3 separate regions of the Homo sapiens genome follow, and all the other regions are linked to region 3. Evidence: promoter capture Hi-C in 16 types of primary human blood cells and fetal thymus (Javierre and others, 2016). All regions are on one chromosome and are shown on one strand. The core of a region is centred on a gene start or on the middle of the fragment in contact, and the rest is flanking DNA. Distances in the headings are between cores, read along the strand shown.

The links. Contacts are between HindIII fragments. The CHiCAGO score rates a contact against its expected background, and 5 or more counts as called.
Region 1: a contact is called between a fragment that was not itself captured here and the fragment with the promoter of SP4 in region 3, in 1 of 17 cell types (total CD8 T cells). The highest score is 5.3, in total CD8 T cells.
Region 2: a fragment that was not itself captured here is called in contact with the fragment with the promoter of SP4 in region 3 in 1 of 17 cell types (neutrophils); the score reaches 7.3 in neutrophils.

What each region holds. Positions count from the first base shown.
Region 1 is chr7:23,595,340-23,598,556 of GRCh38, forward strand. CCDC126 (coiled-coil domain containing 126) reads left to right here and starts at 2,043. Exons shown (of 4, transcript NM_138771.4): 1 at 2,043-2,266; 2 at 2,628-2,712. It overlaps LOC105375187 (a long non-coding RNA gene), which reads right to left and starts at 1,986. Exons shown (of 2, transcript XR_927098.2): 1 at 1,778-1,986. RefSeq lists a silencer at 2,285-2,524. The HindIII fragment of the contact is 959 bases long and covers 772-1,730 here.
Region 2 is chr7:23,527,568-23,530,660 of GRCh38, forward strand. All of the region lies in intron 1 of TRA2A (transformer 2 alpha homolog), which reads right to left. Among named protein-coding and RNA genes, the nearest start is that of TRA2A, 2.9 kb to the right of the region's middle. The HindIII fragment of the contact is 1,530 bases long and covers 496-2,025 here.
Region 3 is chr7:21,426,473-21,429,373 of GRCh38, forward strand. It overlaps SP4 (Sp4 transcription factor), which reads left to right and starts at 1,611. Exons shown (of 6, transcript NM_003112.5): 1 at 1,611-1,786; 2 at 2,205-2,320; 3 at 2,817-2,901. The coding sequence starts at 1,780. RefSeq lists silencers at 545-934, 1,315-1,904. The HindIII fragment of the contact is 8,073 bases long and covers 1-2,901 here.

The DNA.
Region 1 (3,217 bases), core at 1-2,500, 2.2 Mb after region 3:
AATGTGAAAATTGTCAGAATCAAAATGGAGTCACTTGTGTTAAAAACAAAACACCCTGACAGAGCTGGGGAAGGCTAAGAAGGGAAGGCTTTCACATGTGTATACCTGATAACTAAACTATTGCAAAAGACTCTGCAAAAACCACAACCTTACATAAAGACCACTGCAACCTTACACAACAAGTACTTCTGTGTGGACATCTGCCCAGCAACTGCCTGTTGAACCTAGAACTGGAGTCACCCTTATTATTGATCCTTGTAGCCAAGCATAATAATTTCAAAGCAATTATTTAATCCTCCTCATTTTTTCTTTGTCTTCCTTTACCTCCCTGAATACACACAGAGTTTACTGTGGCATGTATATTCCCATTGCAATGCCCTATTCTTAAGTGAGTGTCTTTTTCTTTTAGAGGTCCTATTATTTAGGTTGACAGCTTTAAAATAAAGCTTGTTTTTGTTTTGTTTTGTTTTGTTTTTGAGGAAGAGGCTTGCTGTCGCCCAGGCTGGAGTGCAGTGGCACAATTATGGCTCACTGCAGACTCCACCTCCTGGGCTCAAAGTGATCCTCCTGCCCCCAGCCTCTTGAGTAGCAGGGACTATAGGTGCATGCCACCACAACTGGCTGACTTTGGTATTTTTTTGGGGGGTACAGATGGGGTTTTGCCATGTTGCCCAGGCTGGTCTTGAACTCCAGGCTCAAGCAATCCACTTGCCTCAGCCTCCCGAAGTGCTGAGATCATAGGCATGGGCCACCGTGCCTAGTCTATAATAAAGCTTGTTATCCGGTAGCACAAGTTTTCCTCCTCCCACTCCTTCTCCTCTTCTTTTTTTTTCTTCCTCCTCTTCCTCATGAATGCTTGTCTTTGCTCTTCCATAACATTTTGAATTAGCTTGTCAAGTTTCTCACACATACACAGAAATTTATTGAGATTTTGTTGGGAATTGCACTGGCTCTGTAGGTAGGTTTGGAGAGACTTGGCATTTTTCAGTATTGACTCTTCCAATTTATGAACATGTTACATCTTTATTTAGGTCTTCTTCAGTGTCTTCCAATGTTTTCTTCAGGCAGGTTTTGCATTTCTTTGATCGATTTATTCCTAGGTACTTGATATTTGTTTGGAGCTGTTGGAAATGGTATCTTTAAAAAAATTATCTTTTTTACTAGCATATATAAATAAATATTGATTTTTTAAAATATGATTTTTGTATCTATTAACCTTGTTAAAAACTTTTATTGTTAACAGTTTATCTGCAGATTGTTTTGAAGTGCCACAAACAATTTTTTTTTTTTTTTGAGACGGAGTTCTGCTCTTGTTGCCCAGGCTGGAGTGCAGTGGCGCGATATCAGCTCACTGCAACCTCCGCCTCCTGGGTTCAAGCAATTCTCCCGCCTCAGCTCCCCGAGAGGCTGGAATTACAGGCGTCCGCCACCTCGCCCTGCTAAGTTCGTATCTGTAGTAGAGACGGGGTTTCACCATGTTGGCCAGGCTGGTCTCGAATTCCCGACCTCAGGTGATCCTCCCGTCTTGGCCTCACAAACTGCTGGGATTACAGGCATGAGCCAACGGCGCCCGGCCTCCACGTACATAATTACATAATCTATGAAAAAATAATTTTGTTTCTTCCTATTTAATCTTCAATCCTTTTATTTTTCTTGCCTCACTCCACTGGCTAAGGACCTTTGGCTTCAATAATGGGTAGTCTCATCTGTAGCACACTTAATCATCACTAAGCTTTCCCAGCCTCAGGTCAATAGTATTAGGAGGTTGGTTCCTCACCGGAGGGTCGGGAACAAGACGCCAGAGCCCTTCTTCCAGCGCCTGCAGCGAGTTAAGGCCGAGGGTATGCCTCTGGCGGGCTCATCTTCCAACACAGAAGACCCCGCCGCCCTCTCTGGTTGCCGCGCAGCTGCGTCGTTCTGACCCAGGGTAGGTGCAGGGCGGCTGGAAGCACGTGCCGCCGCTTCCTCATTCTGGGACTACATCCCCCACAATGCCGCGCGCCGCGGGCGGCTGGCCCCCGAGTGCGGGAAGGGCCGGCAGGGAGGCGGAGCGGAAGCCGAGTGCGAGGGACGAGCGGAGTAAAATCTCCACAAGCTGGGAACAAACCTCGTCCCAACTCCCACCCACCGGCGTTTCTCCAGCTCGATCTGGAGGCTGCTTCGCCAGTGTGGGACGCAGCTGACGCCCGCTTATTAGCTCTCGCTGCGTCGCCCCGGCTCAGAAGCTCCGTGGCGGCGGCGACCGTGACGAGAAGCCCACGGCCAGGTAATGAGTAAGGGGCGAGTCCGCCAGCCGGGCCCGCACCTCTCGCGCGCCCCTCAGCCTAGCCGGCCGCTCCTCCCCCGCCGCGCCCCCGTCCCCGGTCCCCGCCCCGCTAGGGCCGCTGCTGCGGAAACCCGGCTTAGGAACGGGCCGGCAGCCTCCGGCCGCGGCCGGGAAGGCTCTTTGTCCCTTCCTTTGGGCCGCGTCTCTGCCCCTCCGCGTCTGACAGCCGCGGCGCCTCGGCTCGGGCGGAGAGCCGAGCGTGGCTGGGGCTGCGCGAGTCGAGCGGGGCGGGCTTGGTCCGGAGCTGCGGGATGTAGATCCCGGGCGGCACCGCACTCACTTCTTTTTCTGTTTTTGACAGCTCAGTTCTCTTCTACTTTGGGAGAGAGAGAAAGTCAGATGCCCCTTTTAAACTCCCTCTTCAAAACTCATCTCCTGGGTGACTGGTAAGGATGAACTTAAACTGCCGTGTTGATTGTTGACTGTGACGGTAATGAGAATGGCTCAGCCAGCTAGGGTTCGAATCCTGCCTGGGTTTCTCTCACTGCCTGCCTTGGTGATCTTGGTTACTTAAAGGCTCTAAGCTTGAGTTTTCTCATCCATCAAAACACACACCTGTAAGTGGTTAGAATTAGGAATATAGACCTATAACGTCATTAGTTCTTCATTTGATGAAAAGATCCTTTGTGATACTTTCATTAGCTATGACTGAAGTGACCGAAGTGGCCTCTGGACTTGAGTTTTGTGCTTTTGTTTGTTTAATCATCCTGGGTTGTGTGTTCTTCACTTTATCTTAAACCTAACCAAAGGATTCATTAAAATATGCCGTCTTCCTAATTTTTGCTGTTTTAAGATGGCTGAGAATGTTCTTAGGAAATTGATGACTCTGCTTTTCTGTGGATCAGCTTCAGAGGTACAAGTATTCACCTCTCCCCTCCCCCTCAGGTGTGT
Region 2 (3,093 bases), core at 11-2,510, 2.1 Mb after region 3:
TGATTATTGATGACATTTCACACTTCTTATAATACACATGCTACATCGTAGGTTAGAGTTTGGTTGATTTACAAAATTAAGCCCACAGACAAAGTGTTTTCCAAACCACACATCCCTAAATATTTAAATCCCTGGACATTCTTTCAGATCTCAAGGTTCTATATTCCATTTAATGAGTGGTACAAAGTATAAGCCTCTATGACAGATCTGTAAAATTAGTTATGCGCTGTGGGTATAATTACTTGCACTGCTCCTTTTCAAAATCTTGCCCTCTACTTATATTGAGCAGATCAACATCCTTCAGTGAAAGAACCTCAAATATAAAAATTTGAGATTTTAATTTTTTTTAAGTTTACAAATTCTTTGCTTAAATGGAAGGGGAGAGGAGAACAACTGAAAGCATTAAAATCAGATAAATGATAGTACTTAAATTTAGGAAAATAGATTAAACCCAAGACTCTCTTAGGTTAACACTATCCCTACTATAAGAAAGAAAGCTTTACCCTTATGTAAGGTCAATTTGATGATATATGGAATTAAATTGCTAAAGACGCTGAATAAGCAAAATGCTATGACATCTCTCACATTTATCTTAAAACTTCATACACAAAAAAATTTTAAGCCCAATTTAAAAGTTCTGTGTTTTTTTTTGTTTTGTTTTTGAGACGAGTCTCGCTCTATTGCCAGGCTGGAGTGCAGTGGCCGACCTCGGCTCACTGCAACCTCCGCCTCCCGGGTTCAAGTGATTCTCTGCCTCACCCTCCCGAGTAGCTGGGACTACAGACGCGCGCCACCACGCCCAGCTAATTTTTGTATTTTTAGTAGAGACTGTATTTCACCATATTGGCCAGGATGGTCTCCATCTCTTGACCTTGTGATCCGCCCGCCTCAGCCTCCCAAAGCGCTGGGATTACAGGCGTGAGCCACCGGGCCGGCCTTGTTTTGTTTTTAAACAAGCCAGTCACAGGCCTGGGTTTTGATAGTCATCATCCCTATCATTCTCAGATTTCAGAAAAGGACCCTCCCCCTATTTCTTCTATTTTTAACAAAAAATCTATACACACAAATCTTTTAATTCCAAATTGATACAGATAAATTTGTTTGCCTTTTTTTTTTTCGAGACAGAGTCTTGCTCTGTCGCCCAGGCTGGAGTGCAGTGATGCGATCTCGGCTCACTGCAACCTCTGCCTCCCGGGTTTAAGCAATTCTCCCACCTCAGCCTCCTAAGTAGCTAGGATTACAGGCATGTGCCACCCCGCAGGGCCTGTAGGAGTCTCTCAAAAATACTCCAGCTACTCAAGAAGCCAGAAGAAATCCTGAAAAGGAGGCAATAAGAAGCGGTATTTTTCCTCTTCAACTGTAGAAAACATAAATAACTCTGGAATTACAAGATAGGTCCCTAACAATAAAGAATCATTAACCTCCATGATCAACACTGGGATGCTGTATGAAAATTGCACATTTTTATAAAGTACAGTTCTTAAAATTTTAGGGGTAGAGGTGTAAAATGTTAAGAAAAGATTTCCATTCCCCTTAATTTCTATGAAGGGCATTAACATTTTTTGAGCTCAAAATCCGAATTTTAGTTGAAGCTGTATTGAGGCAAACAACTCATTACTTTTATCAAGACATGCAAAGCCACCGCTTAAGTGCTACCTTCACTCCCAGCTCCAAAGGACATCTCCACTTAAAATTGCTTTTATGGACCTACGTATTTACTTATTTTTGAGACAAGAGTCTCATTCTGTTGCCTAGACTGGAGTGTCGTGGCGCAATTCCGCCTCCCAGGTTCAAGTAATTCTCCTGCCTCAGCCTCCTAAGTAGCTGTGATCACAGGCGCACGCCACCACGCCCGGCTAATTTTGTATTTTTAGTAGAGACAGGGTTTCACCACGTTGGGCAGGCTAGTCTCGAACTCCTAACCTCAAGTAATCCACCCGCCTCAGCCTCCCAAAAATTGTTGGATTACAGGCGTGAGCCACTGCGCCCGGCCAGAAACGATTTTAAAAAGGGCATCTCCAGACAAGCTTCTCGCATTGTTCTAATTCTTTAACCAATTACAAATAAAGACAATTATCTCATCCTATAAAAACTAAAAGACGAAAAATAAAAAGATACAACAGGTGAGCCTACAAGCACTAGTTGATTTACACTAAAATACACTTGGGTACCACTTGTGAAAAAAATATTTCCTATGACCACAAAGGGCCGTAAGAGGGCCCTTTATTTCTATTAAATAAATCTTTAATGCCTACATATACTTTAGCTTAAAAGTGGGTGGGAATCTTTTTTTTTTTTTTTGAGACGGGAGTCTCACTGTCACCCAGGCTGGTAGGTGGGAATCTTAACATGTTACTTTCTTAGGAGGGAAAAGTGACAATTGTCGGCAACTTACTCCTTTCCTAGACTTGATGATAAATTAAAAAAAGAAAAAAAGCAAGCAAACAAGGTCCCTCCAGTAGTCCTCTTCACTCCCCACAAACCAAACCAAACATCAATCCCCCAATTTTTTAACAATGAAAGTTAATTGAAGGAATGTATGAATGGACAGCAAAATTTCTATCGATAATTACTCAACATTTTCAAAACAAGAAGCATTTTACAACTACTATCATATATGTTTATCGCATGATTTTAGAAAGTTCTGTTGGGGCCATCAATACACCATCCTAAAAAATAAGCAGGTTCAATTTTCATTTGTTTCCATGCTCCAAACTTTGTAAAAAAAAATTCCAATCAAAAGAATTAAAGGCAAATTTTTTAGTCTACCGGGTAACTATTATAGTCTATTGCTTTAAATCTTTCCTCAAAGAGAACTAAAGCCTAAACTGACCTTCTGATTTGACTTTTTGGTTCTAGATGTTTATATCATGAACTCCCCAAAAGGACAAAATTCGCCCTTCAGCACACACACCTCAGGTGTTTTTATGTGCTTCCCCTAGTGACTAGAATAAACATCTACACAACAGCCCGGAACGTGTTGCATGGGGCTTTTGTTTTCTTTCCAGGGTTTCACACGAACTCACTTCTACTAACTCACTTCTACAATTCCCTATGTAGGGTAAACTTTGGAAATGAAACTCACTGACAAAC
Region 3 (2,901 bases), core at 361-2,860:
CTCAGGCAGGAGACAAAAATGCCCAAGGCTGAGTGTGAAGCCCAGGTAAGAAGTGAGACAATGGCTTTGAGCCTGGGGTGTAAGCATGCCTTGTTCCCAAGGCCAGTATTTACATGTGGGGTCACTTCCACCTTTGGTACAGTTAATCAGGCGCTGATTACGTTCCATGGCATCATCCTGACTTCAGGACTTTGTAGGAAAGCTGAGGCAGGACACTGCTCAAGTGCATTTGACAGTAAGATGCTTTGTGCAGCCAGATGTTAATTCCACTTGCCCTTACGCTTGCTTACGCTACACCGTAAGCGGGGCTGACCCTTATGGAGCTGGGCTTTTCTTCGCCCGGAGACTCTTGTCAGATAAGGCTTAGAACTCCGCCAACCACTTAGGCTTTTAGGCAAAACGCGATGCAACCCTTCTTAGAAGGCGGGTCACTGCTCTGCACCAGCTGCCAGCCAGAGAGACAACAAATAAAAATGGAAGATCCTTCTCCGTGAGAAAACAGGCCTCGGACTCAAAGCAGGGGGCCTGAGGGGAAGGTGAGCAAAGAAAGGCAAGGCGAGGGCGCTGCTTCAAGAAGCCGGGTTCATTCAAACCCCGAGGACAGCAAACCCCGCCTCCCCACGCCGCCGCCCGCTCAATCGCCGAGCGCTCCGGGTGTGAGCTCGCCCCGCGGGGAGCGGCTTGGAGCCGAGGAGGCGGCGGCAGAGGTGGTTTGGGCAGCCCCGCGCGGCGGATAGGCCCAGGCAAACAACACCCATTCCCCCTCCTCCTCGCTCAGTTCAACTCCCACTCGGCCCCGGCCACGCCCTGCCGCCACCGCCCCCTCGGGCAGCTTTCCGCTCGGCAGCCAGGCCTCGGTCGGGGGCGGGAGAGAGGCGGTGCCTCGAAGAAGGCACCGCGACCGCCGGAAACTACGAGTACCGACAGCCTTCGCGGTAGTGCCCCACCCCCTTTCTCCCACCACTCAGCGCGCGTCACCCTGGGCTCAGCCAATGGAGACAGAGCCAGGGAAAAAGGGCGCCCGGGTCCGGATGCGCCTCAGGAAAGCCATGCTCCCTGCGCGGGGGCAGCGGGCAGTTCACCCAGCGCGCCGACCTGTTGGTGGTCCGCGCGCGCCCACGTCCGCCGCTCTCGCTTGCCTGGATCAAGGGCCCTACTTTTTTCTTTAGTGGCAATTGGAGGGATTGCTGGAGGGGGTTTTTGAGTGGAGGGCGCTGGGAAATGAGTAGGGGGCGGGATATCCTGAGACAACAAGTTTGGCTGTATGGAGGGCCTACCGGCAGCGCTCCTGAGCTAGAACGCCGAGAGAAAGAGCGCCAGAGGAGCCAGGGAGGAGGAGAAGAGCTGCTAAAGGAATAACCCCGAGAAAGGGGGTGGAGAGGAGGCGGCCCCAGCGCCCCGGCCCCCGGCAGGTCGGCGGCCAATCCGCTGGGGGAAGGGGTGGAGAGTCGGAGGCTCCGGCGGAGAGAGGCCGAGGGGGGTGGGGAGTCGGCCAGGCTCGCACCGCCCTGGCCCCGCCCCCGACCCGCGCCGCCGCCCGCGCCGCGCGCCGCCGCTGTCAATCAAGGGCGAGTCAGCCGGGCTCGGGCGGAGAGAGGAGCTGCTACGCCACAGCCCAGCGGCGGCCATTCGCGGAAAAAGAGGCAGAGCCTGTGCCAGCTACAGCCTCCTCCGAGCCACCGCGGGCGGGCGGGACCGGCCTCTCCTCCCGCCTCGCCCCCACCCCCACCCACCTCTATCCCAGTGTCTCCGTCTGAGGGTTTGTCCTGTTAATGCGGGATGAGCGGTACGTATTCTCCACCCCCCTCAGTCTCCTTCGCCGCCTCCCTCTCTCCCTCCCTCCCCAGACCCTGCTCGGTTCTCCCCCCTCCCCCGGGGCCGCTGAGATGCTTTAAGGGGAGGAGGAGAGGGCGGGAGGGAATCGGGGAGGGAAGGAGGGTTGTGTTTTGTCTTAATGTCTGAGAGAGAACAACCTCCTTCTGGGTGTTGCTCTGGAGCCGATGGGTCGGGTTTCAAACCACGTTTTGTGATATCCCCCTCCTCCCTTCCCTCCTTCTCCCCCACCCCCTGCCGGTGTGCGTGGATCGCGGGTTTATGGAGATTAATGTTCGGGGGGAGGGGGGAGAAGAGGAGAGGAAGAAGACGAATAATAATAATCCTAATAACCTGTTGTCGTGTGTGTGTGGTGGGGGGGTTTGTTGCAGATCAGAAGAAGGAGGAGGAGGAGGAGGCGGCAGCGGCAGCGGCGATGGCTACAGAAGGAGGGAAAACCTCTGAGCCAGAGAATAACAATAAAAAACCCAAAACCTCAGGCTCCCAGGTAAAAGCAAACAAATTAAAAAAATTCATCACGACACATTAGGAGAGAGAGGGAGTTATGCCCTTTGAATGTCCAGAAGTAACAGAATAAAATGTTTATCCACTCAAAGCATCTTTCTGAGAGTGTGGAACTTAAATTGTAAATTCATCAAGTTTTCACCTCTTTGAGGGTATAACGCTGTTTAAAATTACATCAGGAATTCAGACTATAAGAAAACGGTGTGTGTGTTCCCAAGGGCATTTTGAGTTTAGGAACATAACACTTTACAAAGTTGTAAAGAAATTTCCTTTTATTTAAACTTGATATTATAGGACTTGCTTCCTTATTCATATAGTTCTTATCTACTTTTGTTCGTATTTCTTTTTGATTTCTGCTGCTTCCTAAATTGTTATGTAGAGCTGTCAAAATAAGTAACCCCCTGGCAACTACTGGCCTCCACTAAATCCGCCCACTTTTTTTCCCCCCCCCCTCTCCTTTACCGTCCCATTTTGGGTAGGACTCTCAGCCCTCTCCTCTGGCTTTACTGGCAGCTACTTGCAGCAAAATAGGGACTCCTGGTGAAAATCAAGCAACTGGACAAC